4 separate regions of the Homo sapiens genome follow, and regions 1, 3 and 4 are each linked to region 2. Evidence: promoter capture Hi-C in human tissues and cell types (Jung and others, 2019). All regions are on one chromosome and are shown on one strand. Each heading gives the region's core, a stretch centred on a gene start or on the middle of the fragment in contact. The rest is flanking DNA. Distances are from core to core; before and after follow the strand shown.

Region 1 (3,030 bases), core at 121-2,620, 240 kb before region 2:
TATGCTCCATGTTCTGGGCTGCTCTATTACACAGCAATAGATATTCAGAACTGCGTTTTCCATCTGGCTGAGTGGAGTCCTGAGCAGACCAGCTAGGTCCCCTGATGCCTTCACCCTCCTTTCCTCTGTGGTCACTTCTTTCCTTATGGCCTAAGTCCCCCAGCCAGCATCTCCAAAGAACAAGGATGGCCCCTCCCTAGTCACAACACTATCATCGCATGAAGACCATTGACACTAACTCAAGAATGCCATCCAATATATAGTCCATTCACATTTCCCAGTTTGTACAAACATCTTCTATTCTAGCATATTTTTTTTAACTCAAGGAGCTACTTAAGGCTTCCTCATTGCATTTGGCTTTCATGAATGTGAAGAATTCCTGAAAGGCATTTATTTCACTAAAGAAAAAAGATCCTCACTAGAAGTCAGCTGGGAGTAGTGACTCATACCTGTAATTTCAGCACTTTAGGAGGCAGAAGTGGGAGGACTGCTTGAGCCCAGGAGTTTCAGACCAGCATGGCCAACATAGTGAAACCTCATCTCTACTAAAAATACAAAAATTAGCCAGGCATGGTATCATATGCCTGTAATCCCAGCTACTCAGGAGGCTGAAGTGGGAGGATTGCTTGGGCCAAGGAGGTTGAGGCTGCAGTGGCTGTGATAGTGCCACTGTACTCCAGCCGGGGTGACAGAGCCAGACCTTGTCTCATGGTGTGATTATTACCTGGGCAACTCTTTGCTCCTTTCTGAACTGGGAACAACACCTGTTCTACCTATTTCTCAGGTTATAAGTTTCAGTAAAAGTCATTTACTTGTGGCGAACACTATTCTAACTGTTCTTGTCTATTTTAAAATGTGCTTTCACAGAAACTGTTTTCATTTCTGGTCACACATACACACCTGGTGTGCTCACTGTTTGGCATATTGGCTTCTTCATGGGCCTCATCCACATTCTCACTTTATTTCTTGATGGCTCATGTATTTCTCTGTATAGTAATTCCATGCTGTGCCTTTCTCCTGTGGAAACGTCTGGTTCCTTCAGTGGACCTTTTCTGGGTAGAGATGCATCACTCTGCAGGGTGTTGCTTAGAAGGAGTGAGACCTGGAGTGGGAGAAGGGAAGAGGAAAGTAAAACAGTTTTTGCAGCGCAGTATCAGGAGAGAGGGATAGTAACTCAACACAGGCCTTTCCTGCCCCTGTTGGTGGAAGAGGCAGTAGGACATTTCCAGAAACCCAGAGGAGTCCAGGATATGTGAGTCTAGAAACGCTAGTCATGGCATTGAAATCAATTTTTTGTTTGCATGAAGAACCGGGCATACACACACTAATTCTCCTTGGTTTGGGCATTATCTGCTCCCAAGCTGAGTAAATTCACAAGCTTCTTATTGACATCGCAGGGGAGGATGCTGAAGGTTACTGGTGAGTTTATACTGCCTTTACATGGTGTGAAAGTCATTATTTTACTGTAATAAACGTTAAACTGTTCACAAAGATATGCAAAGGTTGACGGTGATCTCAATCCTTTTATGTTGTGAGTCCCCATTCTGCCAGTCCTCTAAGGAGGGAAAGGAACTATGACCCTTGGTTTAGATGGCTCCCCTCCTCCATGCTCTCCCCCAGGAGACCATAAGAAAACAGAAGGCTGTGGGACCCCACTGGCTATAACTAGGACCTTGGGAGTCTGATGTAAATGTTTACCTATTTTTTCCCAAGGAAACAGCATTGTCAGACCTGGGAAAGGACTTAGAAAAAAGAAGGCGAAAGGACAGATTGCAGTCTCCATCTTCTGTGTGGCCTCAGGGGACGAACCATTGATTAAAAACGGAAGGTCAATATCATCTCTGCTGGGTAAACTTGAGATCCTTGAAGAGCCTCTCAGCCCAGTAGGACTCTCAAGCCCTGCTCTGGAGTGAGCAGAAAGGAGACGCAGTGGTTTCCCCTTGAAGGCTGATCTTGGCCTGAGCTCATCATTAAATAAGAAGCGCGTAGATCTTTACGCTGCCTGTGCTGCCCTGGTCAGAAAGGCATTCGTCACAGCTCCAGGCTTTAATTTCCTAAAGAGGCTAAGGTGAAAGTCATTCCAAGGCTCTCTTTTCAGAAAATGGGAAATGATGTTGGCCCTGAGTCCAGAATAGCACATGGGTGCCTATTTGCATAGCTTGATCACAAGGCTTGTCTGTGACCACTCCTGACCCCTCCATGCTAACTCAGCCTCCATCTGCTGAACACAGCCAGTCCCTTTTCTAGGGCAGCCAAAGCTTTGTTCTGAGATTTCAAAATAGATATCAAATATTATTATAGCTGCAGTTTGGGATCATGGCCAACTTAGTGGTTATAAACATAAGTTCTGAGGTGGCCACATTCCCACTGTGGGGTGGGGGTCCAGGAGAAGCTCCTCCCTCTTTGCCCCCACCCACCATCCCTGAGCCCTTGACCCTCTCCCCAAAAGGATGTTCTGTGGGGCTTTGCATAGTTGTTTGCTTTGAATTCCCTGCCTCCTCACCTGTCAGATGAGACATAATCAGGCGAAGAACCAATATCCCAAGAAGATGGCTCTGAAAACAGAATCAGGTGTAGCATGGGGAACCACTGGAGACAGCAGATAGTCACTCATCTTGGCTTGCCCCATCCAGTGTGAATTTTCTGTGCACATAACCTCTTCTTGGTGATTTCTCCTGCAGGTCCTGGGTCACCTGAACACTTGGCTCTGGGCAAACCTGGGAGTGGCCAAGACCTGAAGCAGGAACAGTCCCAGTCCCCATGGTAGAAGATGCTTCCCTTTCCAGATCCCTGGCTGGCTGCATGCTGGGACGCCGGCTGGCTTGTTAGAGGGTGCAGCCCTGACTCTGCCACAATTTTTTGAGCAGCAGTTCCCAAACTTGAGTGACATTGGGATCTCCTGGAGAGCATATTAAAACCTGGATCCCTGGGACCCACCCCAGAGATTCCAATCCAGAAGTCAGGTTTGGGGCCTGAGAATATGAATATTTCCTACAAGTTCCCAGGAAATACTAATGCTTGACCAGGGAC
Region 2 (3,136 bases), core at 598-3,097:
GAACCAGATCTTGACCTGCGTGGGCGTGAGGCGGATGAGGCTGGCCAGGTGTTCGCGCTCGGGCGCCGACAGGTACCGCTGCTGCCGAAAGCGCCGCTCCAGCTCGTAGGTCTGCGCCTTGGAGAAAAGCACTCGCCGCTTTCGCTTCTTGCCGGCGTCCCCCCCGCCGCCCGGGGTCTCCTTGTCATTGTCCGGTGACTCGTCGGCCGAGGGCTCCGGGGACTTGGAGCTTGAGTCCTGAGGGGGCGCCCCGGCAGCCAGACCGTGCACTGGGGGGAGGGGGAGAGAGAAGCGCGTCAGGCGTCTGGAGGCCGCGCGCAGCCTGCACCAGACTCGGAGCACCCTGGATCCTCCGTGCGACCCTGGACCTCCGCGCCTGGCAGCCCAGCCCCGCTGCCTTTGCCATGACCCCTGCCTTCCTCTACGCCTGACGAAGACGTCGGGACCTCCCAGGGTAAAGAGGGAAATCCGTAGGAGTGGGGGCTAGGGGCTCGCCTTTCAAGGGGCTCACATAGTGTGGGTGAGAATTTGGGGGGGGAAGTGGCACTGAAGATCATCGCGGGTTAAGGGCTCCGGCGCCCTTAAGCGGTTTCCTCTCCGGCGAGACGTGGGCAGATTTTTAAAAGAAATACCCCACAATCCCAGCATTGATCGGCTCGGCCATTTAAGGCAGGTTTTTGGGGGCTTTCGTTTCTGCTTTCGGGCCTTCTAGACACCCCCTGCACTGCACAAAGCGTCCTCTATGATCGCGCAGGGGGCAGGGTGAGCTATTTATACCCGGGCCACCCGAAGCCTCCCCACCCTCCACCCGTACCCGGACGAGGCTCGCTGGCTACCTCCAGGGCGCCAGGCCAGTCCCTCCCAGCGGCCGGAGTCCGGGGGCTGCGGCTGGAGCCATCGGTCCGGGTTGACATCATATACCAGCCCCTGGGAGGTATAGCCCTTCTCCCTCTTTCTCCTTAACTTCTCGCATTGAAAAAAATTTTGGAGACCAAGTTCTTTCCCGGAACTAAGGAGGCTTGAAGAGGAGGGCAGAGGACATCCTATACAGGTGTTAAAAATCTTTCTACGGATCCGAGTGAGGGGGTCCGGGCTTACATGGCCCCTTCCCCTTTCACTCCCAGCGTCCAACCCGGGCTGCGGCTGCAGGAATGGAGGGGACCACGGCCTCGGCAGCCAAGTTTTGCTACTTACGGGAGTACTGAAGGCCCTCGGTGCTGGCCAGCCAGCGCGTGTACGGGTTGTCGCTGCTGTCGTAGAAGGGGTTCTTCAGGGGCAGGCTCTGCACCGCGTCCAGGGCGCCCTGCCCCAGCGGCCCGGCCCTCTTGGCTGGCTCGGGCCCCTCGTTCTCTTCCTCCGGACCTTCGGCCACAGAGCCCTCCTCATCGTTGGTGTCCGGCAGGTCTAAGATGTCCTTGACCGAAAACCCCGTCTTTGTGTTGGTCAGCGACATGGTTCGAGACCCCAAAATTTATGTCGCAAAGTTGTAGCTTCACTTGGTCAATTCGTGGCGCTCCCCTGCCCCGGCGGGCGGGGGAGGGGGGAGTTGGGGGGAGGGACTGGGGGAGGGGAGGGGGGAATTGGCTTTAATTATTGGGATAATTATTATTTTTAAAAAGAGAAAGAAACTGGGGATGGGGAGGAAAAAAATGAAGCCCAACCCAGTGCCTCTCTCTGTCTTCTTTGAAAGCACGCGGAAATGGACGCAGGAAGCCGGGCGGCCTGCGCGCCGAGCGCCGCGGGCCCCGGCCTTAGTTTCTAACTCCAGGAGGGGTGCCAAGGCGGCGTCAGCTCGGGCTCCGGCGGCCGCTCGGCGCGCGGTGGCGGCTGGTGGCGAGGAAAAAATGGGCCATTGCCCGAGCGATCAGTCCATATAAGGCTGGGCTCCACTCACGAACCTGGGGAGGCGGGGAGAGGGGGAGAAAGAGAGGGAGGGAGGGAAAGAAAGAGGGAGGGAGGGGGAGCGAGAGAGGGAGCGGGAGAAGGGTGGAAAAAAGGGGGAAGAGACATTAAAAACGCAAAGGTTGGCCACGTGTGGGCGGGTCTTGGGAGTCAAGTGGATGAAGACAGTATTTGCAGATGTGAAATTGTGGGTTTTGGGGAGCTCCGCGCTCCCAGCCAACGGCCCTCTAGAGCAAGATGAGAGGTGTAACGTGTCAATTAATTGCAAAGACGGGGCGAGCCTTTTTTTTTTTAAACCCAGTATTTACATACAAAGGGCCACCGCGTCGCTCGCGAGTCCACACACTTGAAAGGGCCGTTTTAACAAATTGCATCTTAAAAAAGGTGGGGGTGGGGAGGAGGAGGGGAGAAAACAAAACAGAAACCAGGAGGAGGGAAAAAATCCTCTTTAACATTCACCGGTTCCTACCTCCCCGCCCCCGCGCGCCCACCCCCGGCAAGCCGGAAAATTGGCGATTTGTGGCGCCTTTGGAAAAGGGGGAGGGGGCGAAGGCCGAGCTGCGGAAATCTCTCCTTTCCATCGTTGGTGGTTGCCTAAACAAGATCCGGTTCAAATGGCAAGAGCCCAACTTCTGTAAGCCTCCTAGGTCAATATTTTGGTTGAGGCTTAAGGATGAGTGCTAGAAATGACAAGGCAAGTAATTGATTCCAGTTAACCGCGAGAGAGCCCAAAACCCAGGAGAGAGCTCCGCTCCGGGCCGGCCAGAGCCACCACCAAGCGACCCGCCCCCTTCCAGCCGCCCTTTATTTGCTAAAGACTCATTTATTTCCTTCACTCCGCCTCCCCCCACCTCCCACCCCCAACCCCCCGCCTCCACCTCTCTGCGGCCAAGGAGGACGCGCAGTTCACTTTCTGCTTTGCGGGCGGTCCCGGGGAGGGCGGGGTAAGAGTGAGGAGCTCCAACTTCGTCTGGGGTCGGACCCTGGCCCTGCTGCCTCTGGGCTCTGCGGGCCTCTTTCCCCGGGTGGAGGAAAGGGCAGACGGCCCTGCTCTTTCCTGCCCTCTATTATCCCTCCCTCTCCGGCCCCCTCCCTCTCCAGCCTCTGGCTAGAGGTGGAGCAGCGGGAAGGCGGCGGGGCGGGATTGCGGGGGTGGGGGTGGGGGTTGTGTCTCCAGCCTGGGTGAAGACCCAGAAAGCTGCGGGGGAGGGGGGTCGCTGGGTGGCCCGACGAT
Region 3 (2,960 bases), core at 72-2,571, 190 kb before region 2:
GGTGCTGTTATTAGGTGCACCTGTATTTTTAATTGTTATATCTTTTTCTTGATGGATTTACTTTTTATCGTTATAAAATGACCCTCTTTACCTCCAGTAACATTTTTTTATTTGTTTTAGTCTGTTTTATCTGATATCAGTATAGCCACTCCAGTTTTCTTGTGGTTGCTGTCTGCATGATTATCTTTTCTCATCCATTTACTTTTACTCTTTTGGGTCTTTGAATCTCAAGTGTATCTCCTGTAGATAACGCAGAGTTAGATCATGTTTTTAAAATCCACTTTGACAAGCTACCTTTTTGTTGGATTGTTTGATCCATTCACATTTTAATGTAATTATTGATAGAGTTACATTTTACTTTTTGTTTTTTGTATGTCTCATGTCATTTTTCTCTATTTCTCCTTTGTGCTTTCTTTTGCAATGAGAGGATATTTTCTAATATAGCATTCAAATTTTTTTCTTTTCTTATTCAGTGGCCAGTTACTAGAAGGATTCTAAATTCATTAGTAATTTTTTCCACTATATATTTTTTCAAAGTCATTGTTCTAGAGCTTACCCTATGTATCTTGCTAGAATCAAATTCAGATTTATACTTGCTTAGTTTCAGTAATACATGCTAAAATTTATTGAACTTTACTGCTATATAGTTCAGTTCCCATCCCCCCTTTGTATATTATTGTTATATATATTACATATATTGACATAATCCAACAATACATTTTTTTAAGAGTTACTTTACCGTCTGTAGCCATTTCCTTAGCCCACTGCAACTTTGTTTCCATCCACCCCTTTTTGCTATTAGGGCAAATATATTACACATATATTACATTCTGCCTTATAAGCTCAACATTATACTATGTAATATTTATACAATTGCTTTTTAATTCAATTAAGAGAAGAAAGGAGGGAAAATATACTTGTGCTTATTGTTTGCATGGACTTGAATTACCATCTAGAGTCACTTGCTTTAGTAACTTTAGTAAACTTTTTGTAACTTTATAGCTTGAAGAACTTCGTTTAGTAGTTTTTGACAGTGTGGTCTGTTAGCAATAATTCTCTCAGCTTTTTATTGATCTGAGTCTTTATGTCACCCCAGTTTTGCACTATAGCTTTTCTGGACTGAGAATTCTTGGTTGACAGGGTTCTTTTGTTGTTGTTTGTTTGTTTCCACTTCTTTACTGCTTTTTATGTTATCCCACTACCTATTGGCATCATTTATTTATTTATGTATTTATTTATTTATGTATTTATTTATTTATTTATTTTGAGACGGAGTCTTGCTGTGTCACCCAGGCTGGAGTGCAGTGGCACGATCTCGGCTTACTGCAAGCTCCACCTCCCGGGTTCACGCCATTCTCCTGCCTCAGCCTCCTGAGTAGCTGGCACTACGGGCGCCTGCCACCACATCCGGCTAATTTTTTGTATTTTTAGTAGAGACAGGGTTTCAGCGTGCTAGCCAGGATGGTCTCGATCTCCTGACATCGTGATCGGCCTGACTTGGCCTCCCAAAGTGCTGGGATTACAGGCGTGAGCCACCACGCCCGGCCTTATTTATTTATTTTTGAGATGGAGTCTTGCTGTCACCCAGGTTGGAGTGCAGTGGCGTGATCTTGGCTCACTGTAACCTCCATCTCCCGGGTTCAAGCGATTCTCCTGCCTCAGCCTCCCGAGTAGCTGGGGCTACAGGCATGCACCACCACACCTGGCTAATTTTTTGTATTTTTAGTAGAGACGGGGTTTCACCATGTTGGCCAGGCTGATCTCGAACTCCTAAATTGTAGATCTTTCCAGGAATTAGTTTCTGACGTCAGTGTTTGGTATTTGTGCTAACACCAGGAGGGCTCCTCCCAGCCATCTTAATCCCGAGTTTTCTTCTGCAAACTAGCCTGTAGTCCAGGCCTGTATCTTCATTAGATCTATTAGTCTCCTCCCAGTTGCTCTTCACCATAGCTTGCACTGTTTTGGTTTGTTTCTTTGTATTTGAGACAGGGTCTCACTCTGTTGCCCAGGCTGGAGTGCAGTAGTGCGATCTTGGCCCACTGCATCCTCAACTTCCGGGGCTCAGGTGATTCTCCCACCTCAGCCTCCTGAGTAAGCTGGGATTACAGGTATGCTATCACACCTGGCTAATTTTTTGTAGAGATGAGGTTTCACCATATTGCCTAGGCTGATCCCAAACTCCTGGGCTCAAGTGCTCTGTCTCGGTGTCCCGAATTGCTCTGATTATAGTTATGAGCCACTGTGCCTGGCTGTGTGTGTGTGTGTGTGTGTGTGTGTGTGTGTGTGTGTGTGTGTGTGTAGGGTCTCATTTTGTCACCTAGGCTATAGTGCAGTAGTGGCACAATCAGCTCACTGTAGTTTCCAACTCCTGGGCTCATGCAGACCTCTGCCTTAATCTCCTAGGTAGCTGGGACTACAGGTACATGCCACTGTACCTTCCTGATTCTTGATGGGGCTCCAGGACTCTTATGTTCCCCAGGCTGGCCTTGAACTCCTGGGTGCAAGTGATTCTCCCGCTTCAGCCTCCCAAAATGCTGATTACAGGCATGAGCCACTGGGCCTCATTCTACTTTCACTGTTCTTGAGAACAGCTTTTTTTTGTTTGTTTTTTAAACTTTACTGTGCACTTTTGCAAATGAATTTTGTTCTAAAATTTTTACAGGTTTTCTTGATTTGCTTGCTGTTTGCCCTCAGGATCATTTCCAAAGGCTTTAAATGTTTTTGTTTTAAAAGTAATATTTACCAGTTTCACTGGGGAGCAGGTCGTTGAAGCTCTTCATGCTGTCATGTTAGAATAAAATCTTCTGATAAGACTTTATTTAGCAAATGATGATCAATGTCACACACCTTGCCTATTTTGTATCCTCTGTAGTACCTGATATAGACCTTGGTACACATCACTTTGAATCTAGTGAAATTACAATTAATTAGTCTAACATACTGGTTAAGGTACCATCTCT
Region 4 (3,318 bases), core at 687-3,186, 220 kb before region 2:
GGGAGACTGAGGCAGGGGAATTGCTTGAACCTGGGAGACAGAGGTTGCAGTGAGCCAAGATTGTGCCACTGCACTCCAGCCTGGGTGACAGAGCAAGACCCCATCTCAAAAAAATAAAAATAAAATAAAATCAAGGAACGGGATCGGAATAGTGGGAAAGATGGGAACAGTGTCATAGAATTTTCAGACATGTTTTAAAACCACCACAGGTCTGTAAAATTGTCACAGCTTGTCAACTGAACACTTAACTGTGCATCATATGGTAGGTCAGTTACACTCCAATTTAAAAAATAGAAAAATGGGGCTGGGTGTGGTGGGTCATGCCTGTAATCCCAGCAGTTTGGGAGGCTGAAGCAGGTGAATCACTTGAGGTCAGGAGTTTGAGACCAGCTTGGCCAACATGTTGAAACCCCATCTCTACTAAAAATACAAAAATTCGCCAGGCAGGGTAGTGGGAACCTGTAGTCCCAGCTACTCAGGAGGCTGAGGCAGGAGAATCACTTGACCCTGGGATGTGGAGGTGGCAGTGAGCTGAGATTGTGCCACTGCACTCTAGCCTGGGTGACAGCATGAGACTCCATCTCTAAATAAATAAATAAATAAAAATAGAAAAATGGGCCAGGTACAGTGACTTATACCTGAAATCCCAGCACTTTGGGAGGCTAAGGCAGGAAGATTGCTTGAGCCCAGGAGTTCGAGACCGGCCTGGGCAACAAAACAAGACCTCATCTCTACAAAAAAAAATTTTTTTAAATGTAGTCGAGCGTGGTGGTACAAGCCTGTAGTCCCAGCTACTCGGTAGCTGGGACTACAGGATGGCCTGAGCCCAGGAGGTTGAGGCTACTGTGAGCTGTGATTGCACAACTGCACTCGACTCCCCAGTTATGGTCACTCCCCGTCCCTTTGCCCTGTTTTATTTTAGTTCGTAGCACCTATCACAACCCGTCACAGCATGATATATTGTCTTTTCCACCTGTTTGCTGTCTCTCTCTCCCCCAACCTGCCACCCCAAGAAGACTGTAAAATCTATATGAGCAGGCACTTTGTGCTGTCCACCCAGCACCTACAAACACATCTGATGCACATCAGCTGCTTAGTCAGGAGTTGTTGAAGGTAATTAAATGAATGGAGTAACTCCAGGAAGGGAGGCGGAGCCTACATAGCTGAAAACCAGTGGCAATCAGACCATTGATAAATAACAGTTATCAGTGCGTTAAATGCAGATCACCAATGTCACAGGCATTGAGACAAGGGAGAGAGCATCTCATCCTGACTCATGAGAGCTGGAAGGCTCCTTAGAGGTGACTCGGTTTAGCTCCTCATTTTCTGGGTGAGGGTAGTGGGATCTAAAGAAGATGAGAGGCTCGTTCAAGGACATACAGCAGCAGGCTTAGAAGGCAGGCCATGTGACATGGGTCACTAGCAAGAGCTCCAGGCTCTCGGTCTTCTGCAGCAGGGCTGCCTCCTCCGTCAAGTGCAGCATCTTTTAGGAAAGGAGTGTTCCTAGCCTGGCAGTGCAGTTAGGTAGAAATGAATGAGATGTCAGAAACAATATTGACTCTGAATTGGATGTTAAAAGTCAGGCTCACACTTTGAGGGTTGTCTTTGTACTAGACAGAAGGAAAATGCATTTTCTTTGGAGTTTTAGGTCATTTGTTTTACCTTTTGTGGTAGGATCAGCCACATAAAAATATTCCTCATCTTTGGGTGTCATAATATCCCCTTTTTTTTTTCTAACCATAGGCTAACGTGCTCTCTGTAAAAGGTAGTGATTTCTAAGCTGGTTCTCTTTAAGCAAGTGATTCCATGATAAACAGATAGAAACGTGTTCCTGCCATTCACTGGAACCTTTGTTACATTTCTGAGAGCACTCATTAATTTAAGGCATTCTTCTATTGTGCTGGACTAAATTCTACACTATAAGCAGCTCCCACATTGTCAACCATAGCCAGATAATGACTCATTTTTGCATAATACAAGTGTCCCATTCCCTGTTTTAGTTATTATTCAAGTTTATTGACTGATTCTATTTAAGTAACATGTGTTAGGACAAAGAAACACACTAGTCCAGGTGGAAGACTCATTTCAGAAAAGAGTATGGGGATTCACAGAACAGTGCAAATCAGGTTTTTAAAAAATAGAAGAAATGAGAAATGGTGCTTAAACACGTTGTATACTAAATTCCTAATGTATTTTCTCCTTCAAATTGATATCATTGTCTTACTAAGCAAAATTGGCCGTCGGTGATTTAAAAAATGCATAATTCTTCTCCCCTCACCCCCCTCCTATCTGGTTTTAATCTTCATGACTAGCATTACCTTGAAGAAACCACAGCTGAGCCCAGGAGACATTATGGAACCAAATCTTGCCCATGATGATACTACTAACAGGCACAGACTTCATTCAAATTCAGCATCACCCAAATAGATGATTTAAGTTGTTTGCTTAAGCAATGAATGAATAATGAGACGGGATGGGTTGCATTTTTCTTTTTCTTTCTCTTTGTAATTGTCATGAACCATACATTCCAATTTTCCAGTTTGTGCTTCAGTTAAAATCACATCAGTCCACTGAGTTTCTTCAGGCTCTCTAAGAGCCTCTGCTGGTTTCCTCCCTTTTCAAAGGCAGTGACTCTCAGCCATCCTGCAGAGACAGTACATTTGTATCTCCTACAAAGCTTTGCTTATAGTAGATGCTCACCAAATGTTTGTTGAATGAATCTTTGAAGAGAGAATGCCCTCTGTACTCCCCTCCTTTCAAAAAACAAGATTTCTGCCTGGGCGAGGTGGCTCACATCTATAATCCTAGCACTTTGGGAGGCCAAGGCGGGTGGATCACCTGAGGTCAGGAGTTCAAGACCAGCCTGGCCAACATGGTGAAACCCTATCTCTACTAAAAACACAAAAATTAGCTGGGCGTAGTAGCGCACACCTGTAATCCCAGCTACTTGGGAGGCTGAGGCAGAAGAATCACCTGAACCTGGGAGGCTGCAGTGAGCTGAGATCACAACACTGTACGCCAGCCTGGGCGAGAGAGCGAGACTCCGTCTCAAAAAAAAAAAAAGTAAAATAAAAATAAATAAAAAGAAAAGGGGGATTTCTAAAATCCTAGAAACATGTTTGGTATGGCTCTCCTTAGAGACAAATAAAATTTCAAGATGGATAATGTCTGTGAAATTTGTCTTAAGAAGGTAGTGAGTCACACATCCATGCTGATGCCTAACCTAGATCCTGTTGATCCTAACCCTGACCTTTTGGTTGGTCATTGTGTGTCATTGGCCACATGGAAAGCCAGGCAAAAAGCAGCACCGGGCCAGCC

What was found. Contacts are between HindIII fragments. The study calls those that stand out against the background at their distance.
Region 1: a contact is called between a fragment that was not itself captured here and the fragment with the promoter of NKX2-2 in region 2, in 3 of the 25 tissues and cell types used here (dorsolateral prefrontal cortex, lymphoblastoid cells and spleen).
Region 3: a fragment that was not itself captured here is called in contact with the fragment with the promoter of NKX2-2 in region 2 in 2 of the 25 tissues and cell types used here (heart right ventricle and thymus).
Region 4: a fragment that was not itself captured here is called in contact with the fragment with the promoter of NKX2-2 in region 2 in 5 of the 25 tissues and cell types used here (dorsolateral prefrontal cortex, heart right ventricle, lymphoblastoid cells and 2 more).

The regions. Positions count from the first base shown.
Region 1 is chr20:21,272,017-21,275,046 of GRCh38, forward strand. No RefSeq gene overlaps it. Among named protein-coding and RNA genes, the nearest start is that of XRN2, 30 kb to the right of the region's middle. RefSeq lists enhancers at 763-812, 823-872, 933-982. The HindIII fragment of the contact is 3,627 bases long and covers 1-3,030 here.
Region 2 is chr20:21,512,217-21,515,352 of GRCh38, forward strand. It overlaps NKX2-2 (NK2 homeobox 2), which reads right to left and starts at 1,848. Exons shown (of 2, transcript NM_002509.4): 1 at 1,195-1,848; 2 at 1-269. The coding sequence starts at 1,453. The HindIII fragment of the contact is 15,862 bases long and covers 1-3,136 here.
Region 3 is chr20:21,319,052-21,322,011 of GRCh38, forward strand. The region is part of intron 1 of XRN2 (5'-3' exoribonuclease 2); the gene reads left to right. Among named protein-coding and RNA genes, the nearest start is that of XRN2, 17 kb to the left of the region's middle. The HindIII fragment of the contact is 8,876 bases long and covers 1-2,960 here.
Region 4 is chr20:21,287,910-21,291,227 of GRCh38, forward strand. No RefSeq gene overlaps it. Among named protein-coding and RNA genes, the nearest start is that of XRN2, 14 kb to the right of the region's middle. The HindIII fragment of the contact is 9,345 bases long and covers 1-3,318 here.